Regions from separate parts of the Homo sapiens genome. Here region 2 is linked to region 1. The links are contacts of gene promoters, found by promoter capture Hi-C in blood cells and fetal thymus (Javierre and others, 2016). All regions are on one chromosome and are shown on one strand. The core of a region is centred on a gene start or on the middle of the fragment in contact, and the rest is flanking DNA. Distances in the headings are between cores, read along the strand shown.

The links. The method cuts DNA at HindIII sites, captures the fragments that hold promoters and counts their contacts. A CHiCAGO score of 5 or more calls a contact.
Region 2: a fragment that was not itself captured here is called in contact with the fragment with the promoter of CCDC17 in region 1 in 5 of 17 cell types (megakaryocytes, M0 macrophages, erythroblasts and 2 more); the score reaches 6.8 in megakaryocytes.

Annotation. Positions count from the first base shown.
Region 1 is chr1:45,620,286-45,627,199 of GRCh38, reverse strand. CCDC17 (coiled-coil domain containing 17) reads left to right here and starts at 3,146. Exons shown (of 13, transcript NM_001114938.3): 1 at 3,146-3,464; 2 at 3,548-3,643; 3 at 3,761-3,983; 4 at 4,083-4,245; 5 at 4,366-4,449; 6 at 4,533-4,651; 7 at 4,852-4,959; 8 at 5,205-5,323; 9 at 5,465-5,562; 10 at 5,716-5,919; 11 at 6,087-6,297; 12 at 6,367-6,477; 13 at 6,767-6,914. The coding sequence starts at 3,291. The HindIII fragment of the contact is 6,664 bases long and covers 1-4,044 here.
Region 2 is chr1:45,835,871-45,842,784 of GRCh38, reverse strand. The region is part of intron 3 of MAST2 (microtubule associated serine/threonine kinase 2); the gene reads right to left. Among named protein-coding and RNA genes, the nearest start is that of MAST2, 36 kb to the right of the region's middle. RefSeq lists an enhancer at 3,457-3,958. The HindIII fragment of the contact is 2,091 bases long and covers 2,706-4,796 here.

The DNA.
Region 1 (6,914 bases), core at 1,897-4,396:
TGGGGGTTGGGGGAGAGTTGGACGATGGTAGCTGAATGGCTAGTGAAGGAAGCAGGTTTTTTCATTCAACAAATACTTTTTTTTTTTTTTTGAGACGGAGTCTCACTGTGTCACCCAGGCTGGAGTGCAGTAGCGATCTCAGCTCACTGTAAGCTCCGCCTCCCGGGTTCCCACCATTCTCCTGCCTCAGCCTCCTGAGTAGCTGGGACTACAGGCGCCTGCCACCACGCCTGGCTCATTTTTTGTATTTTTAGTAGAGATGGGGTTTCACCGTGTTTGCCAGGATGGTCTCGATCTCCTGATCTTGTGATCCACCCACCTCGGCCTCCCAAAGTTCTGGGATTACAGGCGTGAGCCACCGCACCCGGCCCATTCAACAAATACTTTCTAAGCCCGTGTTGTATGTCCCAGGCATTATGCAAGGCTCTGAGGATGCAAGGAGTGCCCAGCCCAGTAGGGGAGAGAATAGACAGTGATGTAAGAAAAGGACAGGGGTTCAAGACCAGCCTGGGCAACACAGTGACCTGTCTCTATAAAAAACAAAAACATTAAAATGGTCAGGTCCAGCCAGGCGTGGCTCACGCCTGTAATCCCAGCACTTTGGGAGGCTGAAGCGGGTGAATCACCTGAGGTCAGGAGTTCGAGACCAGCCTGGCTAACATGGTGAAACCCCATCTCCACTGAAAATACAAAAAATTAGCCAGGCATGGTGGCGGGCGCCTGTAGTCCCAGCTACTCGGGAGGCTGAGGCAGGAGATTGGCGTGAACCCAGGAGGCAGAGCTTGCAGTGAGCTGAGATAGCGCCACTGCACTCCAGCCTGGGAGAAAGAGTGAGACTCTGTCTCAAAAAAAAAAAAAAAAAAAAACAACCAGGCATGGCAGCAAGCACCTGTAATCCTAACTATTTAGGAGGCTGAGGCAGGAGAATTGCTTGAGCCCAGGAGGCAGAGGTTGCAGTGAGCCCATACTGCACCATTGCACTCCAGCCTGGGCAACAGAGCAAGACTCTGTCTCAAAAACAGAAACAAAATAGACAGGTCCACGTGGTAGCACACACTTGTAGTCCCAGCTTCTTGGGAGGCTAAGGCAGGAGGATTGCTTGATTCCAAGGCAGTTCAGGGCTACAGTGAGCCATGATGGCACCACTACAATCCAGCCTGGATGACAGTCCTGCTCCCGCCTCTTCGGCCTAGAGCAGGAGATTAGAGAACTACAAGCTGTCTCTTGAGGGAAAAAAAAAAAAAATGGTAGTAGTATTTCTACTGAATGCCTATCACTGTTGCACCATTGTAAAGTCAACCAGTCAAAAGTCTTAACCATTGAAAATTGGGACAAACTTAGTTGTTGAAAAGGAGGTTTTGATTTGGGCTTTGCCATTTACTTGTTTTCTGAGAACATATTTCTAAAAATGTACTCTTTATGTCAGTTGGAATTAAGCTGAACTGAGATGACATACTTTGAACACTTTGTAACTTGCTGCTGGTGGGTCATACCTTGGCTTTAGGTACTGAGTAGGGAAATGTCTTAAGTCCCTGTCTTGTTTAGAAAAGGGAGTTTCGGCCAGGCATGGTGGCTCACACCTGTAATCCCAGCACTTTGGGAGGCCGAGGCGGGGGAATCACGAGGTCAGGAGATCGAGACCATCCTGGCTAACACTGTGAAACCCCGTCTCTACTAAAAATACAAAAAATTAGCCAGGCATAAGGCTGGGCGCAGTGGCTCACGCCTGTAATCTCAGCACTTTGGCACGCCGAGGCGGGCGGATCACAAGGTCAGGAGATCAAGACCATCCTGGCTGACACGGTGAAACCCCATCTCTACTAAAAATACAAAAAAAATTAGCCGGGCACAGTGGTGGGCACCTGTAGTCTCAGCTACTCGGGAGGCTGAGGCAGGAGAATGGCTTGAACCCGGAAGGCGGAGCTTGCAGTGAGCCCAGATAGTGCCACTGCACTTCGGCCTGGGCGAAAGAGCGAGACTCCGTCTAAAAAAAAAAAAAAAAAAAAGCCGGGTGTGGTGGCAGGTGCCTGTAGTCCCAGCTACTGGGGAGGCTGAGGCAGGAGAATGGTGTCAACCTGGGAGGCAGAGCTTGCAGTGAGCCGAGATCGTGCCATTGCACTGTAGCCTGGGCAACAGAGCGAGACTGTCTCAAAAAAAGAAGAGAAAAGGGTGTTTCTTGGCCGGGCGCAGTGCCTTACGCCTGTAATCCCAGCACTTTGGGAGGCCAAGGCGGGCAGATCACGAGGTCAGGAGATCAAGACCATCCTGGCTAACATGGTGAAACCCCGTCTCTACTAAAAAATACAAAAAATGAGCCAAGCGTGGTGGTGGGCACCTGTAGTCTCAGCTACTTGGGAGGCTGAGGCAGGAGAATGGCGTGAACCCAGGAGGCAGAGCTCATTGCAGTGAGCTGAGATCGCGCCACTGCACTTCGGCCTGGGCGACAGCGAGACTCCATCTCAAAAAGAAAAAAAAAAAAGTAAAGAGGGTTTCTTAAGAAATATGCGGTCACCTCAGAGCTCCTCCATATATTTTGGGAGTGGGAGTGGAGTGAAGAATTTCACCAACAGTTCAGGGTCTTTCTGGCTTCTGGCCAATCTTGGGAGAGAGAAGGGGTTTTTTTCTGGACTTGATTCCCTCATCTGATAGATTCATTCTGTTCGCCCACAGCTTTCATTTCTTGGGCTGTGCTGATTATCTTCGTCTACAGCTGAAAAATGAGGAATCAGGGAATGGGAGTTAGGGAGACTGCTATCCCTGGTGCGACATGGTTTCCAGGCAGAATGCTGGAAAGGTCAGAGTGCCTCCTTTGCCAGGTAGTTCTCTGGATTGGAGAATGGTACAAACTGTTACATCCACTTGGGAGTACAGCAATGAAAAAGATGACACTTGCCTTTTAGAGGCTATTAAATGACCAATGATGTAGTAAGTGATAAGGGCCCAGCCTAGTCTAGGAGGCAGCTGCTTTTTCCTCTTTATTAATAGTCAGGGAAACCAAGCTACAATTAGAGACTTGCCCACGTTCAGACTTTGTAACACTTTTTCAAGCCAGTGGCTCCTCCCAAACGGCCGAGGTTTCCCCACCCATTCTCCTGACCTGCCCAGCCCTGTGGTTGCTGTCCAGGGAGCTAAGGCTCTCCCCAAACAAACTTGAAGATCTCACAGACCTAATAGACACGGCCTTTCCTCTCTGCCTCTGGCTTTATGTCTCTTTCATCCTCCTCTGCCTTTCCCCTGCCCTTGATCCCTTCTGCAGGTCTTGGCTGGTTTCAGGAAACGGGTCCCATCCCATGGACTCCCACTCTGGGGAGCCTGCGCTCCTGCCCTGTGGGACCTGTGACATGGTTTTCCGCTCCTCAGCTCTGTTAGCCACCCATACTCAGCGCTTCTGCATTGGCCACCCGACCCAAGAGATGACATTTGGAGCACAGGCATCAGTTGCCACTGAACCCCAGCGGGCCGCGGTAAGGGCCTCCATGGCCATGGGTGGGGATTCAAAGGAGCCAGGACCTTTATGATTCCTCATCCTACTACACCCTATCCCCAGGTTGTGCCACAAGAACACCAGGGCGTGCCACAAGAACCCCAGGGCCTCCCAGACCAGCAGGCCAGTAGATCTGCTCTAAAGAGGTTAACAGAGGAGGTAGAGCTACCTACCTTCCCCCAGGGCTCAAAACGTTGAGCGTCTTCCCCAAACCTGTAGATCATACTTGGGACAGATTCTGCCCACGCAGAGATCGCGGATCGCTGTTACCTCCAGGTGCAGTGGCTGCGGCTATCCCTACAGGAAATGCGGCCCTGGATAACAGAGGTCCCCAGGGTGTTCGCGGGGCCCTGGACACGTTCCGAGGCGCGGCCTCAGAGTCCCATGTCCGAGGCGGTGGGAAGCCCCAGCGAGCGGCTGCGGGCGCTGTTCAGGACTCGCGCGAGGCGCGTGGCGGAGATGGAAGCGCAGAGCCGGGCCCTGCAGCTACGCGGCGAGGGTGAAGGAGATGGGGGACGGGGACCAAGGACCTCCTCTGCCCTCGCCGTTTGGCTTAAGCTTGCTCGGGCCGGTTCTGACTCGGCCCGCATTCCCTCAGAACTGAGCCGACGCCTCCAAGTTGTGGCCTGTACGCGGGGCGGGATGTCCCGCCTCTTCGGCCTGGAGCAGGAGATTCGAGAACTACAAGCTGAGGCCGGGAGGACGCGGGGAGCTCTAGAGGTGTTGGGGGCCCGCATTCAGGAGCTGCAGGCGGAGCCAGGGTGAGACCCGACTAAGCGGATCCCCGGAACATGCGGCTCCGGGGTGGGAGGGGCGGGCTGGCTGCAGCCCCGGGGCCTCTGATGCGTTACCGTCTCCCTGCGCGTCGCCTGCCACCCCAGGAACCCGCTGAGCTCCCGGCGAGAGGCAGAACTTTATTCTCCAGTGCAAAAGGCCAACCCGGGAACTCTGGCTGCCGAAATCCGGTGAGAGCCGGGGCCGGAGATGGGCATAGGGCGAAGCGCTGAGCAGTTCTGGAAAGACGGCCTTCCTGTTCCCCACTCCCTAGGGCGCTGCGGGAGGCCTACATTCGAGACGGGGGCCGGGACCCCGGCGTGCTGGGCCAGATATGGCAGTTGCAGGTGGAGGCGTCTGCACTGGAGCTGCAGCGGTCGCAGACCCGCAGAGGTGAACAGGAGGGCCTCTCGCCAGCGGTGGTCAGTCCTGGGAGGAGAAAAGAACTCGAGGGAGGGCCTGTGGCTGTGGATGGCATGTGAGCTGACAAGTCCAGCCTTATCCGAAGAGCCTTAGCGCTGGAGAGCTGCTCACAGCCGGACGCGGCCAGTCACCAGAGGTCAAAGGTGACAGGTCACACTTGTTCATCGCAGGAAGGGCAGGTGCCACCTCAGGGGAGCTTCCAGTAGTGGAGGCTGAAAACCGGCGCTTGGAGGCAGAAATCTTGGCCTTGCAAATGCAGAGGGGTCGGGCACCCTTGGGTCAGTGAGCACCCCAACCCTATCCCATCCCACTTATCTCTCCCCAGCAGGCCTGGCTCAGGCAGACAGTGCATGGGGAACAAGACCCGTGTTTGTGACTCCCCTAGTTCATGTCTGCACGTGTGTATCCCTGTATCCACAGGGCTCCGCCAACCCATTTGTGGGCCCAACTCTTGGGGGAGGGGTATCTCAGCTAATTACCTGCTTTGTCCAACTTAGGGGCACCCTAACTCTTCTGCTCCTAGGGCCCCAGGATCTGCGACTCCTGGGGGATGCCAGCCTACAACCGAAGGGGAGGAGAGATCCCCCACTCCTCCCGCCACCGGTGGCACCACCGCTGCCACCACTTCCAGGCTTCTCGGAGGTTCAGTTCTTGGGTGGGGCAAAGGCTGTGAGGACACGGGGTGGGTTGGGGGAACAGGTTGGAGGCAGCTCTGCTCTGAGCAGTTGGGGGAACATGAGCAGCTACAAGGCTTTCTGGAGGAGTCAGCTCTCTTCCCCACAGCCACAGCTTCCTGGAACAATGACCAGAAACCTGGGCCTGGACTCACACTTCCTCCTGCCCACATCGGACATGCTGGGCCCTGCACCCTATGATCCTGGGTGAGGCCCGTGCCACCTTCGACAGCCTCTGTGACTTGGCCAGCACTGCTGGTTAAGGGAGCCCACTAGGACCAGATAGGGTTAGGGACCTGCCTGAGAGGAGGGAGGTTGAAAGGAGTTGGGTATTTCTGTGCTAAGACTTGTGTTCCCCAGGGCTGGCCTGGTCATTTTCTATGATTTCCTGCGGGGCCTTGAGGCTTCCTGGATTTGGGTGCAACTAAGGACTGGCTTGGCACGCGATGGACGGGATACAGGAAGGACCACAGCGTTGCCCCCAGCCCTTTGCCTGCCCCCACCTCCTGCTCCCGGGCCCATGGGCAACTGTGCCATCCTTGCCAGCAGGCAGCCTGTGCCCAGGTCAGTAGGTGGGGATCATGACTCTGGTACTCTGCCACAGTTGAGGCTTATCCACCATTCTGCTAAGTTTTCTCATCTGTATACAGAGGCCGCTGGCTCTAAAGGGCTAAGTCCTAGAAAGGGACTGTAGCTCTGGCTTCCGACACTGCTTTTTGGTTATTCTACAGACTACCACCCTCATCATCAGTATCTTTGGTCTGTGAGCTGCAGGTCTGGCAGGGGCTAGCATGGGCTAGGGCACCACAGCCAAAGGCTTGGGTCTCACTTGGACTATTTGACCAAGATCAGCGGGTGCTAAGTGGCCGCTGGCGCCTCCCACTTCGGGCCCTTCCTCTGGACCCCAGCCTTAGCCTTGGGCAGCTGAATGGGATTCCTCAGGTGAGTGTGGTGCGCAGGGATTGGGCATACAGCAAAGTACAAGTGCAATACCATTTCATCTCTCCCCAGGCAGGTCAGGCTGAGCTCTTTCTGCGGCTGGTGAATGCAAGAGATGCAGCTGTACAGACACTGGCAGAGATCAATCCAGCAAGTGTCCATGAGTACCAGTACCCACCTCCGGTGAGGGCCCAGCTGCAGCTAGGGACACCACAGCTACACATACCGGTGTGGCTGGTATGGCTAACGGCCAGCCTTTATTGACCACTGTGTGCCAGTCATTACCAATGCTTTCTTGTTTGATCCTCACATCTCTATGAAGTCCTACTATGTAACAGATAAGGAAATCAAAGCAGGAGCAGGTTAACTTGGTTCACAGTAAGTGAGACTCTAAGGAAGCCTAACTAACTCCAAAACCTGTGTGCTTAACCTTTACATTTTTGCTCAAAACCTGCCTTCTCCTGTTCCACAGGTGTCCAGCACATCTTCACTGGAAGCCAGCTTCCTCACCCCCGCAGTTGGCTTTGCTGATCCCCCACCTCGTACAGAAGAGCCCCTCAGTGGAGTCAAGGATAGAGATGAGGGTTTGGGCCCTCACCACAGTTCTGACTTGCCCCCAG
Region 2 (6,914 bases), core at 2,502-5,001, 210 kb before region 1:
GAAGACAGGTACTCAAGTACATGTATACATATAGTTCATAGCAGCACTATTCACAGTATCCAAAAGGTGGAAACAGCCCAGTGTCCATCAATGGATAAAAAGTTGTGTTGGACACATACAACGAGATATTATTCAACCAAAAGAAGGAATAAAGTACCAATATATGCTAGAATGTGGATGAACATCCAAACATTATGCTAAATGAAATAAACCAGATACAGAAGGTCACATATGTATAATATTATTTATATAAAATATCCAGAATAGAGAAATCCATAGAGACAAAATGCAGATTGCATGGAAGGGGAGTGGGGAGAAAGGGCTTAATGGATAAGAGGTTTAAATCTAAAGTAACAGGCAGGTTTTGCAGCTAGATAGAGGTGGCAGTTGTATTGTGAAAAACAAATCTGCCAGTACTAAATGCCACTGAATTGTTCACTTTAAAATGGTTGATTTTGTTATGTAAATTTCATATCAATATTTTTAAAAGGATATGTACACCAGATTACCTGTCATCATCTGAGAATCAAACTCATTAATTTTCTCCCCCAAACCTGTTCCTTTTCCTGTATTCTCAATTTCAGATAAAAGTAACAGCCAGGTACAGTGGCTCATTCCTATAATCCCAGTACTTAGGGAGGCCAAAGCGGGTGGATCACTTGAGCCTGGGAGTTCGACACAGAAGAATACAACGATCACCTAGTGGCAATCAAGCAGACCATCCGAAGACAAAACTCCTTATCTGAAAAATTGAAAAGTAATTAGACTTCTCTATTATCTAAAGCCAGCATCTGGTACCAGGCTTCTTTCCCAAAAATTTATAAGTAACTAGAATTTCTATACATCTCCAGAATGCATGAATGTCAAAACTTATTTTGCAACCCTTGCTAACATCAAGGCACCCAAAGTCTACAAATGTAATAATTTACCATGACCTACATAACTAATATGGTCCAAATTACCCTAAGGTCCTGCTTTAAAGTCCATAAATACCCCTAAGGAAAATCCACCGCAACACACTCAGTCCTTTTTGCTGAATGAAGCACTGTACTGCACTCTGCTGCAGCATTCTATCTAATAAAACTTTCCTTTCTAAACCTATACTGCTGTCAGTAAATTCTTTTACCACCAGTGAGCCAACCACTCTCCACTGCCGGGTTCTGACACCTTGCCCAGCAGAGACTAGCCCGCACAACATGGCGAAATCCTGTCTCTACAAAAAAGTCAAAAAATTAGCCAGGCATGGTGGCATCCACCTGTGGTCCCAGCTACATATATAAGGAATACATGTATTTCTTACTGTATCACAGTAATTATATATATATACAGAAGAAATATATATATGTATATATTTCTTTATACGGTAAGAAATATACACAATATTTCTTACTGTATCACAGCTACTAATAACTATTTGAAGTACCGAGGCATAAAAAGAAAAAAATATATACATTTTGTTCATATTGTTAAATGACAAACCTGAGACAAGTTAAATTTAATGACTTAATTGAACAAAAAACAGATTTGCCAGGTGCGGTGGCTCACCCCTGTAATTCCAGCACTCTGGGAGGCAGAGGTGGAGACTGGAGGATTGGTTGAGCCCAGAAGTTTGAGACCAGCCTGGGCAGCACAGGGAGCCCCCACCCCCAACCCCCATTACAAATAATAAGGAAATGAAAACTGTGGTCCCAGCTTCCGGGAAAGGTGGGGAAGGGAGCAGCCTGAGGCAGAAGCATCACTCAAGCCCAAGAGGTCCAGACTGCAGTGAGCCATGTCACTGCACTCCACCCTGGGTGACTAAGCAAGTCCCTGTCTCAAAAAAATAGAGATTAATGAACCAGTTAGCATCCAGTACCAAATGCAGTTCAGAATGTTCCATCCCCCAATGCATGTAGGCTATATTTATAGCCAGAGAAACAGAAATGACATACAGAAGTAGCCTGATGGGCTGCAGTTCAGGTGTTTGCCTTATTTGAACATGCTTTGGCAATATTCAGCCTATATGACTGGCTGAAAACTTGGCTGCTATGCTTGACTGAGGCTCAGCTACTTGTTACAAGAGTATACTCTTAGGTTAGGTTGCAGGTAGTTTATATATTAAATTAGGTTATAGTTCACTATGTAGGGAGGTAGCTTTTGGCTGCCTCTAAATTTAACTATAAATCTGGCACTATGCTATTTTAAATGGATTGTCTCATTTCATCCTAAAAACTGCATGAGCGAAGTCTTAATATTATTTTGATTTTAAAGATGAGAAAACAGAGGCTTAAAGAGGTTCAGTGACTTGTAGAGGGTCATATGATTACTAAGTGGCAGGAGTAGGATGTGGAACACAGGTGTACAGCCTGAGTTTGTATTTACTTTTGTAAAGTAGAAGGCATTCACAATGATTTCATTCAAATATATTTTCTTGAGTAGAAATGAAAAAAGTATAAATTAACGGGTAAACCCACAGGAGTTGCATGCAAAGAACATTCATTATGACTTCTAGATTTCTACCTCCAAAGGTAGAAGGTAGTGATATGTATTAAAATCCAAACAGACAACAAAATCTGTTAATAACTCTTTAACACAAGTTTTACTCATCATTCCACCCCCTTGTAGATACACTTCAATTTGTCTTCATTCCATTAAAAATAAATACTGAAGAGCAAAAATTTTTCTTTCTGATAAAAGCCAATTTTTTTCCTTTTATAGGTTAAGCTTTTTTTACTCCAAGAAACCTTTGCCCCACCTAAAATCACAAAAATTTTCTCGTTTTCCTCTACACATTTTATGATTTAAGCTCTTACATTTGTTCAATTACCCACTTCAAGTTAATTTTTGTACAGCATGAGGTAAGTATAGAGGTTGATATTTTTGTGTGAATTGTTTCAACACCATTTGTTATGAAGACTACCTTTTCCCCCATTAAATTGCCTTGGCAAATTTGTCTATTTGGTTCCAGTGATCTATATATCTATCCTTATACCAATAATCACACTGACCCGATTACTGTTCCTTTATACAAAGTCATAAAATAAGTTTGATTCCTCTAACTTTGGTCTTCTTTTTAATATTGTTTTGGTTATTCTAGGTCCTTTACATTTCAATACACATTTGAAATCAGCTTGATATTTTCTGAAAAATACTACCTGGGTTTTGATCGGGACTGCATTAAATCTATAGCTTAATGGAGAAAATTTACATCTTCATGATATGAGTCTTCCTAGACTGGGCACCAGGTGGTTCATGCCTGTAAGCCAGCATTTCGGGAGGCCAGGGCAGGAGGATTGCTTGAGTACAGGAGTCCAAGACCAGCCTGGGCAACATGGCGAAACCCCATCTCTACAAAAAATACAAAAATCAGCCAGATGTTGCTGGGCGTGGTGGCTCACGCCTGTGATCTCAGCACTTTGGGAGGCTGAGGCGGGCAGATCACGAGGTCAGGAGTTTGAGACCAGCCTGGCCAACATGGTGAAACCCCATCCCTACTAAAAATACCAAAAACTAGCCAGGCATGGTGGCAGGCACCTGTAATCCCAGCTACTGGGGAGGCTGAGGCAGCAGAATCACTTGAACCCGGGAGGCGGAGGTCGCAGTGAGCTGAGACCATGCCATTGCACTCTAGCCTGGCAAACAGAGCGAGACTCCGTCTCAAAAAAAAAAAAAAAAATTTGTGATGGTGCCTGTAGTCCCAGCCACTTGGGAGGCTGACATGGGAGGATCACTGGAGCCCAGGAGGCGGAGGTCGCAGTGAGCCAAGATCACACCCCTATACTCCAGCCTGGATGACAGAGTGAGACCCTGTCTCAAAGGAAAAAAAAAAGAAAAGATATGAGTCTTCCAATACACAAAAATGTTGTATCTCTCCATTCATTTAGGTCTTCTTTAATTTGTCTCAGTAATGTTTTGTAGTTTTCAATGTACTGGTCTTCCAAAATGGTTTCTGGAATTTATCTTCAAGTAGTTCATATTTTAAACTATTGCAAACAGTCCTGATTTTTAAGTTTTGATTTCTAATTACTCATTGTTAGTATAGAGGGATACAACTGATTTCCACATTTTTCGTATATAAATATTTGTGTAAAACTGATAAGAAAATGAAAATGTAAGTCACAGACAGGGAGAATATGTTTAGAAGGCATATATTTGATATATAACTTGTATTCAGAATATACGAAGATTCCTGAAACTCAATAAGACAAAAAAAATTTTTTTTTAAATAGACAAAAGTTTTGAACAGACATTTGATCATAGAATGTATATATATAAAAATAGCTGACTGGGCGCATTGGCTGACACCTGTAATCCCAGCACTTTGGAAAGCCTAGGCGGGTGGATCACCTGAGGTCAGGAGTTCAAGAAGAGCCTGGCCAACATGGCAAAACCCCGTCTCTATTAAAAATACAGAGAAAATTAGCCAGGCATGGTGGTGCATGCCTGTAATCCCAGCTACTCAGGAGGGTAAGGCAAAAGAAGTGCTTGAACCCAGGAGGCGGAGGTTGCAGTGAGCCAAGATCATGCCACTGCGCTCCAGCGTGGGCAACAGACCGAGACTCCATCTCAAAAAAAAAAAAAAAAAAAAAAGAATATATATAATTGGCAAATAAGCACATAAAAATATGTTCAATCTCATTAGTCATTAGAGAAATGCAAATTAAAATTAAAACCACAATGAGAAACTCCCACACATCCACTAGTATGGCTAAAATTTAAAAAATGATAGCCGGGTGCGGTGGCTCACACCTGTAATCCCAGCACTTTGGGAGGCTGAGGCGGGTGGATCCCCTGAGGTCAGGAGTTCGAGACAAGCTTGACCAACACGGCGAAACCCCACCTCTACTAAAAATACGAAAATCAGCTGGGCGTGGTGGCGTGCGCCTGTAATTTCAGCTACTTGAGAGGCTGAGGGAGGAGAATGGCTTGAACCCGGGAGGTGGAAGTTGCAATGAGCCGAGATTGTGCCACGGCACTTTAGCCTGGGCAACAAGAGTGAAACTCCATCTCAAAAAAAAATATATGATAATACCTAGTACTGATAAGATGTGGAGCAACTGCTGGTGGAAATGCAAAAATGGTATAGCCACTTTAGAAAACAGGTTGGCAGTTTCTTATAAAGATAAATTTACACTGGTAAATATACATTCCACCAGTTTCATTCCTAGGTATTTACCCGAGAGAAATAAAGCATATTCCACACCAAAACAAAAACAAAAAAACTTATATGAACTTTCACAGCAGCTCTCTCTCTAACAGGCAAAAACTGGAAACAACCCATATGGTCATTAACTAGGGAATGGAAAAGTCTATATACCCATGCCAATGGAACACTTTTCAGCAATAAAGAGGAACAAACTATTGATACTCAAAACAACATGGATGAATCTCAGGAGGATTATGCTAAGTGAAAAAAGACACAAAAGACTATATACTGTATGATTCCATTCCTATGAAATTCTGGAAAAGGCAAAACCACAGTGACAAAAAGCACATCAGTAGTTGCCAAAGGCTGGGCCTGGGGAGAGAGAACAGACAGCAAAGGGACACAAGCGAACTTGGGGTGGCAGATATATTCTATACCAGGTCCATGGCCTGTTAGGGACCAGGCCACATGGCAGGAGATGAGCTGTATGAGGGTGAGCATTATATATTCTATACCAGGTCCATGGCCTGTTAGGGACCAGGCCACATGGCAGGAGATGAGCTGTATGAGGGTGAGCATTACCGCCTGAACTCCGTCTCCTGTCAGATCAGCAGCACAGCATTAGATTCTCGTAGGGGCATGAACCCTATTGTGAACTGCGCATACGAGGGATCTAGGTTGCACGCTCCTCATGAGAATCTAGCTAATGCCTGATGATCTGAGGTGGAACAGTTTCATCCTGAAACCACCTCCCATCCCCCCTCCACCCATCTGTGGAAAAACTGTCTTCCATGAAACCCGTCCCTGGTGCCAAAAAGGTTGGGGAATGCTGTTCTGTTCTATACCATAATTCTTATATAACTATATCATAATTGTGGTGGTGGTGACACAACTGTATACATCTGCCAAAAGTCATCAAACTGAACACTTAAAACGGGTGAATTTTATTCTATGTAAATTATACCTCAATAAAGCCAACTGACATATAGATATAGATATCTCCACCTTTCACAGTAGAAAATGCAAAACTACAGCAGCAGAAAGGTAATACTGAAAGGGGAAGTGCTGAATTTGGAATCTCTTTATAATACTGAAGTAGGTAAAACAAACGTCTATGGGTTTTTCCTCTTTGAACTCGTGAAAATTAAGGAAAAATAAATTAAGAATGATGGGATTACTTTTCAACTAAAATAATATAAATTAAAATAAGAATCTTTTTAATGATGAGAAAAGGTTCTAGGTTCTAAGAAAAGTCTTGGAGTTTTGTTATTTCCTTTAACAGCATACTCCATGTGACCTCAACAGACAGTTCTAAAATATTATTAAAATATAATACTAATCAAAGCCACAATAAGACACCACTTGACACCCACTATGATGGCTATAATCAAAAACACAGAAAAGTACTGGCAAGGATGCAGTGAAACTGGAACCCTCATATATTTCTGGGAAGAATATAAAATGGTGTAGCAAACCAAAAGTGTGGTAGTTCTTCAAAAAGTTAAACAAAGAATTACTGTATCATCCAACAAATCTACTCTTAGGTACATACCCAAAATACAGAAAACAAGTATTCAAAACAAATTCATGTACACAAATACAGCAGTACTATTCACAATGGCTAAAAGGTGGAAACAACTCAAATGTCTATCAGCAGACAAACGGATAAAAGTGTGGTTTACCCATACAACAGAATCTTATTCAGCCATAAAAAAGGAATAAAGTATTGATACATGCTATAATGCAGAAAAATCTTGAAAGCATTGGGCTAAGTGAAAAAAGCCAGGCA